Linked DNA regions of Homo sapiens: all the other regions are linked to region 3. Evidence: promoter capture Hi-C in human tissues and cell types (Jung and others, 2019). All regions are on one chromosome and are shown on one strand. Each heading gives the region's core, a stretch centred on a gene start or on the middle of the fragment in contact. The rest is flanking DNA. Distances are from core to core; before and after follow the strand shown.

Region 1 (3,431 bases), core at 825-3,324, 750 kb after region 3:
CGCCTGTAATCCAGCTACTCGGGAGGCTGAGGCAGGAGAGTTGCTTGAACCCAAGAGGCAGAGGTTGCGGTGAACCAAGATCACGCCATTGCACTCCAAGAGTGCAACGAGAGCAACAAGTGCGAAATTCCCTCTCAAAAAAAAAGAAAAAAAAGAAAAGAAAAGAAATATTTCTATTTTATTTTATTTTTACTTCCCTGGTAACTCACAGAACACATTTCTTTTTTAATTTGTATTTTTCAATTTAATTTATTATATACTCTCCAGTATTACATTGTTTGTATCATGTTAAATGCTTTTAGAAGCTTAGTAGTAAGGTTCAGTTGTATCTCTGAACAGTTGATTTTTCTTATTCCCAGCTGTTTGAAATGCTTGTTCCCTGGTGCCATAAAGAAATAGCACTTGAACATAAATTTAATTTACTCAGCAAGGCCGTTTTTATACTTTCTGCAGAAAGGGTATACTTGCCAGCAGTTTTGCCACAAGAGTACACCGATCAAAGCAGACAGGGTCATTTATAACCTGACGCGTCCACCCTACTGCTGTGTCCGGTTTCCATTGGCTGGAACGGGACCTGACGTTCTGTATTTGTCCCGGTTGGCTAGCAACTTAGAACTTTTTTTAAAAAGAGGCAAAGGCAGAGGAGAACAAAGGAAGGAGGAGGTAACTTGTGGAATGCTGAGAACGGTAAAAACACCTTCAAATAAGGAAGAGGAACAGGCTATGACCTAATGCTTGCTTGGACCAGTATATGCATGCCAGGGCAAATATTTAGGCTAAATTGTGGGAGCTAAGAACTTAAAGTACATTGATTTCTTTATCATGGCTAGCAGATATTTAAGAATGTTAGTACGGGTCTTTGAATACATTTTGCTTCTAAGAGAAGTTACTATTTATTCCTAATTAGACAGGGAGGAAAGTCTTTGAAGAGGAACCTCTAGTTTTTACACCAACTCACTTTATTCATTTACTCAAATGCCTTACAGGTCTTTGAGTTTGAAACCCCAAGTAAGTAAAATAATTCATGAAAGGTAATAAAAACAGAGTCTGGCACATAGTTAGGTTTTCAGTAAACGTAACTATTTTATTCGGCTGAAGGTATCAGTATCTAAGTGTGGTGCTAAGAGTTTTCAATATAATATATAAGAGGGCATGCTACTGTGACAGATGCACCTGATGTAGGATTAGCAATGTTGAGGTCCAGGCCAGCAAAGTGCAGATGGAAAGGTCTTGTCCCATAGATCAAAGGAAAGCCCATGTTTAGAATGTAAATGAAATGAGCTCTTTCCTTTGAGTGTAAAATATGGTCTTATTTACTGGAGTAGATTTAGTTTGTTTCTTCTTGATGCTTCGAGTTGCAGTTTCACTGTTTTAATGAAACTCAGCTGTAATATTGTTTGCCCCACCTCACCTCACCTCCATAAAAGTGAAGCACCTTTGGAAATGAAAACAGTATCTACCAAAACCCCTCTAGTGGTATTGATTATATTTGGTAAGCTTGGTAAGATGTTGCTGTTTTTAACACCAGTATTGTACATTTGGTAATTAAAAAACTGACTTGAAAGAAGAATGAACTAGTTCATTCACAGCTCCTGGTTCAGGGTAAAGAAAAAAAAAAGAATGGACAAGTTCAGAGTCCTAGAAGTCCTAGAAGTCATTGAATGTAAACGAAAGCTAAATTTGTAGCTAAAATAAAGCTATAAATTAAGCTATAATATATTATTTAGCTGCTGACATTATGTAAAAATTAACATTTTAGAAATATTGAATCTGAATCTTAAATAAATTACCTACCTTAATGAGTGACTTTTTAAAAATAAAGCTATGTATTGCACCCAAAGGCATATTTTATATTGGTGAAAATTAAATTTGGGAATGTAATGAGAGTTATATTACTAAATTACAGTTCCAATGTAGTAGAAGTACTATGCCTATTAAGATGAAATAAATCAGCATACATAATACTAACAACAGCGATTGTTTATTTCATGTTTAGTATATACATTGTCCTAAGTATCTCATATATATCATCTAATTTTAATCTCTTGGTCAATCATAGAAGGTAGTGACTTTTACCAACATTTGCAGAGGAGAGAACTGAGCATTAGAATGCTATACAATTTTCCCAGGGTCACACAATGAAGGGGCAGAAGCAGAATTTGAACCCTGGTCTGTCTGACTTGAACACTCATGTTATTTACCACTGTGCTGACCGACAAGTATATTAACTATCTCTGAAAATTACATATGTGTGTTAGGGAGGCAGAATTTGGGATGGTTGTGGTTGCGGATAACCTCAGTTGGGCTTAAGGCTAGTATATCAAGGATTTGTTTTTTTCCATCAAGCAGATCATGTTGCCAGGCCATTAAGCAGAATTTCAAAGGATGAAAATTAGTTGCTTTTTCTGTCTTAATTCTAGAAAGCAAACAAAAGTACCCTATGAACAAAACAAACAAACAGTTCCCTACAGATTTCTGAGCAAGTTCAGTTACTCTGTAGGAGTAGTTTAAAATGTATCTTGGCGGAGCGTGGGTGGATCACGAGGTCAGGAGTCGAGACCATCCTGGCTAACACGGTGAAACCCCGTCTCTACTAAAAATACAAAACATTAGCCGGACGTGGTGGCGGGCGCCTTGTAGTCCCAGCTACTCAGGAGACTGAAGCAGGAGAATGGCATGAACCCGGGAGGCGGAGCTTGCAGTGAGCGATTGTGCCACTTCACTCCAGCCTGGGCAACAGAGCCAGACTCCGTCTCAAAAAAAAAAAAAAAGTGGATTGGCCCGGCATGATGGCTCACACTTGTAATCCTAGTACTTTGGGAGGCTGAGGCGGGTAGATCGCTTGAGTCCAGGAGTTTGAGACACGCCTGCGCCACATAGCAAGACCCTGTTTCTAAAAAAAGAAAAAAAAAATTACAAAAACTATCCAGGTAGCTGGGCATGCTGGCACATGCCTGTAGTCCCAGCTACTCAGGAGGCTGAGGTGAGAGGACCACTTGAGCTGGGGAGGCAGAGGCTACAATGAGATGTGATCATGCCACTGCACTCCAGCCTGGCAACAGAGAGACCCTGTCTTAAAATTAAAAAAAAAAACAAACAAAAAAAAAGAAGTTGGCTGGTCGCAGTGGTTCACACCTGTAAACCTATAATCCTGGCACTTCGGGAGTCTGAGGTAGGAGGAGTGCTTGAGTCCAAGGGGTTCAAGACCAGCCTGGGCAACAAAGCTAGACCCTGTCTCTAAAAAAAAAAAAAAAAGTACAGAAATTAGCTGGGCATGGTGGTGCTGCACACCTGTAGTTCCAGCTACTCGGAAAACTGAGGTGGGAGGATTGCTTGAGCCCAGGAGCCCAGGAGCTCAAGGCTTTAGTGAACTGTGATCGAGTCATGCACTCCAGCCTGGGCAACAGAGCAAGGCCCCCTCTCTTAAAAAA
Region 2 (3,470 bases), core at 419-2,918, 710 kb after region 3:
GAACCCAGGAAGCGGAGATTGCAGTGAGCCAAGACACACCATTGCACTCCAGCCTGGGCAATAGAGTAAGACTCTGTCTCAAAAAAAAAAAATTGCATAAGTAATGAGGAGCTGAATGGTAATTCCCAAGAGAATGGGGGAAATGTTGCCAGGGCATGTCAGAGGTCTTCATGGCAGCCCCTCCCATCACAGGAGGAAAAAATGGTTTCATGAACTGGGTCCAGTGTTCCCAAGCTGTGTGCAGCCTAGGGACTTGGCACCCTGCTTTCCAGCCACTCCAGCCATGGATGAAAGGGGCCAATATAGAGCTTGGGCCATGGCTTCCGAGGGTTCAAACCCCAATCCTCGGAAGCTTCCACGTGGTGGTGAGCCTGCAAGTTCACAGAAGATTTGGGGTTTCTGAACCTCCACCTAGATTTCCAAAGATGCGTAGAAATGCTTGGATGCCCAGGCAGAAGTTTGCTGCAGGGGTGGGCCCTCATGGAGAACCGCTGCTAGGGTAGTGCAGAAGGGAAAGGTAGAATCAGAGCCTCCACACAGTCCTTAGTGGGGCACCACCTAGTGGAGCTGTGAGAAGAGGGCTACCGTCTTCCAGGCCCCAGAATGATAGATCCACTGACAGCTTTCACCATTCACCTGGAAAAGCTGCAGACACTCAATCCTAGCCTGTGAAAGCAGCCAGGAGGGGGGCTATACCCTGTAAAGCCACAGGGGTGGAGCTGCCCAGGACTGTGGGAACTCACTTCTTGCATCAGCATGGCCTGGATGTGAGACATGGAGTCAAAGGTGATCATTTTGGAGCTTTAAGATTTGACTGCCCTGCTTTCTTTGTGGTTACCATGAGCCTAACATAAAATATCTTATCACAGTCTATTTTAAGTTGACACTAGCTTAACTTTCATCACAAGAACTTTGCATTTTAACTTTTCTTCCCACATTTTATGTTATTGATGTTACAATTTGTATGTTGTCTATCCATGACCAAATTATTATAGCTATATTTTAATACATAAAAAAACTTTAGACTACAGTTAAAAGTGATTTATGTACCCCCATTACTATATTAGAGTATTCTGAATTTGACTATTTTTACCCTTACAGTGAATGTTATACTTGCATGTTTTCATTTTGTTAGCTATTATTCTTTTGTTTCAACACAAAGAACTCCCTTTAGCATTTCTTGTAAAGCAGATGTAGTGGTGATGAACTCCCACAGGTTTTTTTGTTTGTGTTTTGGGTTTTTTTGTTTTGTTTTGTTTTTTGGCTAGGTTCTTATCTCCTTTATTTCTGAAGGACAGCATTACTGACCTTCAGAACAGTATAGTATTGTTAGTTGGCAGGTATAGTATTCTTAGTCAGGTATAGTATTGTTAGTTGCCAAGTTTTTTCATCTTTCAACATTTTGAATATATTCCCATGGTTTCCTGGCCTGCAAGGTTTCTACTGAGAAATGCAATGATAATCTTATGATGGTTCCCTTGTATGTAATGAGTTCCTTTTCTCTTGCTGCTTTCAAAATTCTTTCTATCTTTGACTTTGATGATTTGATTATAATGGGCCTCAGTGAAGATCTCTTTATATTTAATCTATTTGGGATTCTTTGGGTTTCATGGATTTGGATGTTCATTTCCCTTCCCAATTTGGGGAGTTTTCTGTCATTGTTTCTTTAAATAAGTTTTCTGCCCCCTTCTCTTTCACTGTTCCTTCTGGAACTCCCATAATGTATATATTAGTTTGTTTGATGATATCCCATGATTCCTGTAGGCTTTCTTCAGTTTTTTTTTCTTTTTGTTCTTTTCATTGTTGTTGTTGAGACGAAGTCTCACTCTGTCACCCAGGCTGGAGTGCAGTGGCACAATCTTGGTTCACTGCAAACTCTGCCTCCTGGATTCAAGCAATCCTCCCACCTCAGCCTCTCTAGTAGCTGGGACTACAGGCATGCACCACCATGCCTGGCTAATTTTTGTATTTGTATTTTTTATTTTTTGAGACAGAGCGTCATTCTGTTGCCCAGGCTGGAGTACAATGGTGCAACCTCGGCTCACTGCAACCTTTGTCTCCCAGGTTTAAGCGATTCTTGTGCCTCGGCCTCCTGAGTAGCTGGGATTACAGGCGTGCGCCACCACACCCAGCTAATTTTTGTATTTTTAGTAGAGACAGGGTTTCGCCATGTTGGCCAGGTTGGTCTCGAACTCCTGACCTCAAGTTATCCACCCACCTTGGCCTCCCAAAGTGCTGGGATTACAGGTGTGAGCCACCGTGCCCAGCCCAGGTACCTTATCTTCAGGGAGCACACTGTGAAAGGAATTCTTTATCAAATCTTGGCTTTTTTTTTTTAAGGTGATAAATGATTCCCTCACAATATTACAATATAACTCCCTTGAGAAAAGTTGGATTGGTTATTTTCATTCCCATACACATGGGCCTTCCCATTATAATTTCATAAGGGGACAATTGATGTTTTCCCAAAGGGATGGATTGGAGTGTATGCAGCACTAGTGGGAGTGCTTTGGGCCAGGGGAGATGAAATACCTCTGTGAACTTAGCCAATTTGCATAAGTAACGAGGAGCCAAATGTCAATTATCAAGACAACGGGGGAAAATGTCTCCAGGGCATGTCAGAGGTCTTCACGGCAGTCCCTCCCATCACAAGCTGGGAGACCTAGGAGAAAGAAATGGTTTCATGGGCCAGGGCCAGGGCCTTGCTGCTTGGTGCCCTGTGCCCCAGCCATGGCTAAAAGGGGCCAATGTACAGCTCAGGCCATTGCTTCAGAGGGTCCAATCCCCAAGCCTTGATGGCTTACACGAGGTCTTGTGCCTGCAGATGCAAAGAGGTGAGGAATTAAGGATTGGGAACCTCCACCTAGATTTCACAGGATGTATAGAAACACCTGGATGTCCAAGCAGAGGTGTGCTGCAGGGGCAGAGCCCTCATGGAGAACCTCTGCTAGGGCAGTGTGGAAGGGAAATTTGGGGTGGAAACCCCTACACAGAGTCCCCACTGGGATACTGCTTAGTGGAGCTGTGAGAAGAGGGCCACCATCCTCCAGGTCCTAGAATGACAGACCCACTGACAGCTTGCACCATGTACCTGGAAAAGTCACAGACACTCAACATCAGCCTGTGAAAGCAGCTGGGAGGGCGTCTGTACCCTGCAAAGCCATGGAGGTGGAGCTGCCCAAGACCATGAGAACTCACCACTTGCATCACTGTGACCTGGATGTGAGACACGGAGTCAAAGGAGATTATTTTGCAGCTTTAAGATTTGACTATCCCTCTGGATTTTGGACTTGCATGGGGCCTTTAGCTCCTTGATTTTGACCAATTTCTCCCATTTGGAATGGGTGTATTTACTGAATGCCTGTACTCACATTGTATCTAGGAAGTAACTAACTTGCTTTTGATTTTACAGGTTCATAGGTGGAAGAGGCTTGCCTTGTCTCAGATGAGACTTCAGACTATGAACTTTT
Region 3 (3,419 bases), core at 411-2,910:
CTCTCACGATCTATGATGAGCCTTTCCTAATCCAGTATGTATATCTTTGCACTGAGTTCTTTGCCATATCTTTTAAATATGAAATCATTCTATTTTGTCCTATTCATCAGTCTCAGAATTGATTGTTGAATGTTCCCAACATGTACTTTCATCTCTTTACTAAGATATATATTAATTTCTTTGTGGTGAGGAAATTGGCCACTAGAGAGGGCTTTCAAATGTGCAAGTCTCCCTTTGGCCCAGGCACAGCTAATCTGAGCACGTCAATGCCACACATCCTTGCCTTCAAAGAGTAATTGGGCCAGGGGTGGGCCCATGACTTAATACCAGCCAGTGAGGTTCATTATGGGGATTTTTGCTGGAACGATTAGAAAGAAAAGAGGTACTATTTTTCCTGGGTTTGCTAGATGGGGACAGTGAAAGTGTGGTGCCTTCCTTCATACCACTAGAGAAGTCCATCTACCACCAAGGAAAATGAGGCTAATCTCAGGAAAAGCAGAATCAAAACAAGGAGGATGAGAGCCCCAAAATTATTATTTGGGTAATTGAATTCACTAGTTTAAAGTCCCTGGACTTTTCAGTTACACAAGCCAATATATTACCTTTTGCAATATTCAGTTTAAGTGAGTTCTGACAAATACAATGGTGTACAAGAATAATGACGTATTAATGATACATGGAAAAAAGCAACACAAAAATTTTAAATATAGTAACGATCCCAGTTTTGTAAAACACTTATTAAAAAATGCAGTAGGCCTATAATGCCAGCACTTTGGGAGGCTGAGGTGGGAGGATCACCTGAGCCCAGGAGTTCAACACCAGCCTGGCCAACATCGTGAAACCCCGTCTCTACTAAAAATACAAAAATTAGCCGGGCGTGGTGGTGTGTGTCTGTAGTCCCAGCTACTCAGGAGGCTGAGGCAGGAGGATCACCTGAGCCCACGAGGTGGAGGCTACAAGGAGCTGTGATCACGCCACTGCACTCCACCCCGGGTGACAGAGCAAGACCCTGTCTCAAAAAAAAAAAAAAAAAAAAAAAAAGCAGCAGAATAGAAACAATGATGACAGTTAAATGGTGAGATGAGAGTGAGAAACGCTGAATTTAATTTTATTCTGTATGTTTCACAAAGATGTCAGGGTCTGGGATTTTATCCAATTTACCATACTCCACCAAATCAACTGGTAGGATCTCCGTGAAACAGTAACAGGGTCATTTAGAAACCTGTTGCTGCCTCATGAAAATCCTATGAACTCTCCTTGGTTCCCCGGTGATACTGTCTGGCAAGGCCCCTTATCTCTCCAACTCATGTCACACCTTGGCTCCAGTTCTCATTTCTCAGGGGTGCGTGTTTGCTGCCGCCCACTCCATCCTCGCGTCCCACGCCCTCGCGATTCCTGCTCATCCTAGGGGCGCCAGCTTCGCTGGAGGACGCCGCGCTCTGCGGGTCCCCGCCTCGGTTCCAGGCCCAGCTGCAGGTGCCACCCAGGTTTCAGGCGCTGAGGAGCGGAGAGCACTGCCAGCTCGCTGGGGTCCCCGCTGTCTCTGGCAAGCGGCTCCGCGCCGGGTGGGCTGGGGCGGCGGGGCGGGCGCAGCTGCTTCCCCGCCCCGGGGCGGCACCCGCGCTCGGGGCTGGCGGCTCCTCCCCGCCCGGCCGGGCCCAGCAGCCCCTAGGAGCCCAGCGCCGCCGCCATGTCCTCCGGGGCTAGCGCGAGCGCCCTGCAGCGCTTGGTAGAGCAGCTCAAGTTGGAGGCTGGCGTGGAGAGGATCAAGGTGCGGGCCCCGGGTACCCACGCTCCGGTCCTTCCGCCCGCGGGGCGTGAGAAGAGGAGGCCGGCGGCCCGGACCGGGCGCCAGCGGGGGACTCGGTGGCGGCGGCGAGGCCTCGGCGGGGCGCGGGGGCGGTGGGGTCCGCGGTGAGGGAGGGCGCGGGGCAAGCCGGGGGCCCGGGCCTGACGGGAGGAAGCCGCGCCTGGGGGGCCCCGCGGTCGTGGTCGGTCCCGGTCCCTGGGGGTGCGCCCACTCCAGAAGGCGGCCGTGGTCAGTTCCTCGGAGGGCGCAAGGGATGCCGGCGACGCGCGGGCCGGGAGGGTGGACCCAGGGCTGGGGAGGCCACCGCAGGGCGGCGAATTGGTGATGGATTGGTAGGATGAGAGCGAGAGGGAGGAGAGCCAGGATGCTCGGGTTTCTGTCGTCGTGACAGGGTGGACGGCGCTGCCACCCGCCGAGGTAGAGAGGAGGGGGAACAGGTTTGGGGAAATGATGAGTTCGGCTGCGGACCTGGGGACTCCGGGGAGTCATCCGGGAGGTATTTGTCCTCATGGCCTGAAGCTCAGCGCCCAGGGCTGAAAGAGGTCATTCAAGTGCATTGGGGCGAAAAAGCCTCTTCTATGAAGAGCAGAGCTCAGAGCCTGGGACCCGGGGACCAGCCACACCGATGGCCGGTGGCCGAGAGAAGAGGAAATAAGAGACAGCAAGGTTTCCGAGCAAGGCCTAGAGAAGAGGAAATAAGAGACAGCAAGGTTTCCGAGCAAGGAAGTAGGGATTTCCAAAAACTGGGGGCTCAGTCAACATGTCCAGCGTTTAGTCAGTTGGCTAAAAGGCGTCTGTTGTAGAGCTGTGTTTAGCTACGAGTGCAGCATTATTTGCAGAAGATCTGTAAGAAGGAACACAACCAGGATAGTCCCTGTGCCTCAGTTTCTCCTTTGCTGTGTGCCTGGCACTGCTACAGGGAATAGGGTGGTTCTGGAGGGGAAGGTAAACAGCAACTTAACGGATACATAGCATCGCTTCATGTACTAAGTGGAGTGAAGATAATAAACAGGGTAAAGGGAGAGAGGGCTGTGGAATGCAGAGGTCTGGTGGCTTATGTGTTAGTAAAAGCAGAATCTGGACTGTCATAGGGTAGGCAGACGTTTTTTCTTTTTAAAGAAACCTAGTTTTAAAGAGGAAATAACGTGTTTTTTTAACTTAGGAAATGAAAAGCCATGTTTTAGGGTTGAGAGGAAGTAACAAATTATATTTTTAGGTTCCAGGGAAGAAACAAATGGAAGCCAATTGCTGGTAGAGGAGACAGGGCTACGGGGGGGTGGGGGATTGGTGGCACAGCTTCTGAGACAGGAAGAAAGAAGGTAAGGGTGTGTGTAAAGATAAGTTTCTAGATATGGGCTAAACTTGTATGGTGACACTTTTCTTTGTGAAATAGGAGGCCAGGTTTTCTTCTAAGGCAGAGGAAAGGGGACTAAGGGAGTGGCCCCTGAGCAGGCACGCAGATGCGCTGTGACTGAAGACCCAGCTGCTGTGACAAGGGAGACTGCTGGTCATATTTGTGATTTTTTTTTTTTCCTGCAGCAATCTTTACCATCCTGGAATGTGAGTGCTGAAGGTGAACGGTAGTTGAAAGAGGAGTAAGTTAGCAGGG
Region 4 (3,372 bases), core at 873-3,372, 830 kb after region 3:
AAAAACAATTTAAAATTTACCTTTGTAACTACTTTTAAGTGTACAGTTCGGTGGTGTTATATTTACATTATTGTGTAACATCTCTAGAAATTTTTCATCTTGCAAAATTGAAACTCTGTACCCAGTAAACATTATATCACCATTTTCCCCTCCCTCTACCCTCTAGCAACCACTATTCTACCGTCTTGTTTCCACAAGTTTGACATAATCCCACAGTTTACATACCTCTACATAGTTCATATAGGTCAAATCATAACAGTATTTGTCCTTTTGTGACTGGTTTATTGCACTTGGCACAACATCCTCAAGGTTCATCTATGTTGTAGCCTGTGATAAGATTTCCTTCCTTTTTAAGGCTGAATAATATTCCATTATATGTATATATCACATTTTCATTCATCTCTTCATCTGTTGATGAACATTTGGGCTGCTTCAACCTCTTGGCTATTGTGAATAGTGCTGCAATGAACATGAATGTGCAAATATCTCTTCGATATCCTGCTTTCAATTCTTTTGGATATTTACCCAGAAGTGGGATTGCTGGATCATATGGTAGCTCTAGTTTTAGTTTTTTGAGGAACTTCCCCACTGTTTTGCATAGTGGTGGTACCATCTACATTCCTATCAGCATTGCATAAGAGTTCCAATTTCTCCACAAGATCCCATCTTTAGAATATGCAGCAATTAACTAGGGGGTTTTCATTTTTGGTCTTTTTTGTTTGTACAAACATTATTGTGTCAACATTTACACAGATTTTAAATTTCAGCCTAGACCTGGAAGAGTGTTGATAGAGGAAGGTGTTAAGAACATCAACCGGAATCAGCTCTAGAGATGGAGAGGGGTTGGCAGAAGCTACCTAAAAGAGAACATGCTTGATGTGGTAATGAAGTTACCTGCTTGGATTCTGGACGACCCTGGATATTTTCTCCTTTGCTAAGAAGTTAGCTTCTTTCTCTCCCTCAAAAATATTCTTCTCTTCCCTTACCTACTCCAAGGGTACAAGTGACTGGGGTATGCCTGTCACAGATGAGGTGAGGCCAAGATGTGGGCACTACGTAAGGCCTGACAGATATGGTGTAAATGTTATTTATTACCATGATTACTGTTTTGGAGATGGTCAGTGCTGTAAATAGAAAGGGAGTTAAGAGCAGACTCTGAAGCCAGACTGTCCGGAATGAATCCAGGCTCCTCTAGCTACTATCTATGTGATGTTGAAAAAATTTCTTAATTTCTCTGTGCCTCAGTTTCCTTATCATAAAATGGCAATGTTAATAGCACCCACTATGTAGAGTTCTTAGGATTAAATAAATTAATATTCGCTAAGTACTCAGTGCAAACTGTGGGCACACAGCAAGTACTACGAAAGTGTTAGGTAAAATAAAGGTGGACCAAGCCTGGTAGCACCTAGCAAGTCCAGCTTCATCTTTGCTGTGCTGAGTCGTGTAGGTGGTGTTCTTGTGTCTCTGGTTTGCTGGAGGACCTAGTTTTAGTGTATTTTAGGTATCATTAAGCATCCCCGCTCCCTCGATGGGATAGGGGTGTGTGTGTTACAGGTGGTTGTTGGGCACCTTCACGGGGCAGCGGTGACTATGGGCTGTACGTAGTATCTCGGTAGAAAGTGTTAATGCACATCCCTGGGCGGAGAGGTAACTCTACTCAATGCGTTATAAGGGAAATCACACACCTCACGGATGGTGTAGGTTCTGTCTGCTCCTTGCGTTTCAGTGGAGGTGCACAGAGCTCCGGGGGGCATCGGGGACCGCGGGCCCAGGACGTGTAGTAGGGAGCAGTGCTGTACACTTCCTCGGACCATAGCGGGGACGGCGGGTTCCACACCTGTCGGGGCAGTAGGGACTGAGCTCGTGCGCGCGGAGGATGGATTGCTCCAACCTCTCGGTCCAGCGCGCCGGCCGCCGCGTGCGAACGTGTGTGCGGCAGGAGGCTCGATCTACACCTCCTCGGGGCAGCAACGACTGCGAGCTCGGTGCGTGCCGTAGGAGGTGTCGTTACACACTTCCTGTGGGTCTCGCCGACCACGGCGCGTTTCCGGTGCCGGCTGGAGCCCGGGGTCCGAGCCCCCGCCCCGCTCGCCGGCCCCGCCCCGGCCCGCCCGCGCCCCGCCCCCTGCCCGCCCGCCGCGCTCCGAGCCGGGCGCGCGGAGCTCGGGGCGCACGGAGCGGCGCGCGGCGGTCGGCCGAGCCAGGCTGGCGCCCCCGCCCCCCGCCCCGCTCCTCGGTCCGCCGCCCGCCGGGCGCCTTCCCCGCTCCACTTACCTTTGGTGCCCGGCCCTCTGGCCGCTCTCCTCCCGCCCTCGCGCCCCTTCGGCCCGTCCCGTCCAGCCCGGGCTGCCCGGCTCTCGCAGGCCCCCCCGCGCCGACCGCGTTCCTATGGACAGACGCACAGACACCTGCAGGTGGGTGAGAGCCCGCGCGCGGGGCGGGGACGAGTGCGCCGACGCCGCGACCCAGGCGGGGAGCCCCTTTGTGTGGGGGGCGGCCGCGCCGGGGTCGACTCTGCTTCCCCGTCAGCGGCCGCGCGGTGACCCGGCTGAACCTTCCTTTTGTCTCCTCTCGGGGGAGCGAGGCCGGAGCGAGGGCAGGGACCCGGGCGGCCGCTCGTCGGCAGCGCCGGGCTTGGGGGTGCGAGGCGCAGAGACCCCCGGTGGCGGCTCCGGTCCGCCTGCCCCGGGCCGCCCCGCCGCCCGGCAGCTCGGGTCTCAGCGGCGGCTGCAGGCGCAGTGCGTGGGGCTGGCGCCCCCGCTCCTGCTCTTGGGTCTGTCGGAGGTGGGAAGGAGGGCGGGAAGGAGGAGGAAAAGGTCTGTCCTCTTAGTTTCCAAGTCTTGAGATGCTTATGGAGAAAGAGAGGTGGTTCAGGGCTCTGCCCCACTAGTTTTCCTCCTCGGGTGGCTCGCCGAGGTGCGTTTGGGGCGTGTGTGAAGGAACGTGCATGGCTTCGCTCCCTTATTTATTGTTTCTAACGGAGGAGGGCTTTCTCCAAAAGGCTCTTCCGCCCCCCCACCCCCATCTGAGGCTGCGCACAGTGATTTGTGTTTGTTATCAAATATATCGAGAAATGTATTCCCCTGGGTAGGAGGAGGTTGGACTGAACAACGTCAAACCAAAATCAAAGAATGTTTTTGGTTCCTTCAAGTCTTTTTTTTTCTTTAAGGTTTTAGATTGGGACTTTAAAAAAAATGAACGTGGCTGTGATTTTTACAATTATATGTATTTAGTGTGTGTGCGTGTGTGTGTGTGTGTGTGTGTGTGTGTTTTGAAGTTTAGGAGTAAAGTTTTGTTTTTTCCCGAACTCGTTAGGATTCGCAAGACGGAATCCTCTCCCGACGAAATAAACAGCTAACAAGCCAGTCAGGT

The links. Contacts are between HindIII fragments. The study calls those that stand out against the background at their distance.
Region 1: a contact is called between a fragment that was not itself captured here and the fragment with the promoter of GNG10 in region 3, in 1 of the 25 tissues and cell types used here (H1 embryonic stem cells).
Region 2: a contact is called between a fragment that was not itself captured here and the fragment with the promoter of GNG10 in region 3, in 1 of the 25 tissues and cell types used here (lymphoblastoid cells).
Region 4: the fragment with the promoter of KIAA1958 here is called in contact with the fragment with the promoter of GNG10 in region 3 in 1 of the 25 tissues and cell types used here (stomach).

What each region holds. Positions count from the first base shown.
Region 1 is chr9:112,413,350-112,416,780 of GRCh38, forward strand. All of the region lies in intron 4 of HSDL2 (hydroxysteroid dehydrogenase like 2), which reads left to right. Among named protein-coding and RNA genes, the nearest start is that of HSDL2, 35 kb to the left of the region's middle. The HindIII fragment of the contact is 5,910 bases long and covers 1-3,431 here.
Region 2 is chr9:112,366,202-112,369,671 of GRCh38, forward strand. It overlaps a transcript of PTBP3 not described here. Among named protein-coding and RNA genes, the nearest start is that of HSDL2, 12 kb to the right of the region's middle. The HindIII fragment of the contact is 8,217 bases long and covers 1-3,470 here.
Region 3 is chr9:111,659,945-111,663,363 of GRCh38, forward strand. It overlaps GNG10 (G protein subunit gamma 10), which reads left to right and starts at 1,661. Exons shown (of 3, transcript NM_001017998.4): 1 at 1,661-1,771. The coding sequence starts at 1,691. The region is part of intron 1 of DNAJC25-GNG10 (DNAJC25-GNG10 readthrough); the gene reads left to right. RefSeq lists enhancers at 1,242-1,301, 2,372-2,471, 2,672-2,721 and silencers at 1,482-1,931, 1,962-2,081. The HindIII fragment of the contact is 18,619 bases long and covers 1-3,419 here.
Region 4 is chr9:112,484,705-112,488,076 of GRCh38, forward strand. KIAA1958 reads left to right here and starts at 2,123. Exons shown (of 4, transcript NM_133465.4): 1 at 2,123-2,414. HSDL2-AS1 (HSDL2 antisense RNA 1) reads right to left here and starts at 2,940. Exons shown (of 5, transcript NR_171779.1): 1 at 2,275-2,940; 2 at 1,686-1,837. RefSeq lists an enhancer at 1,602-1,661 and silencers at 2,092-2,151, 2,232-2,721. The HindIII fragment of the contact is 14,239 bases long and covers 1-3,372 here.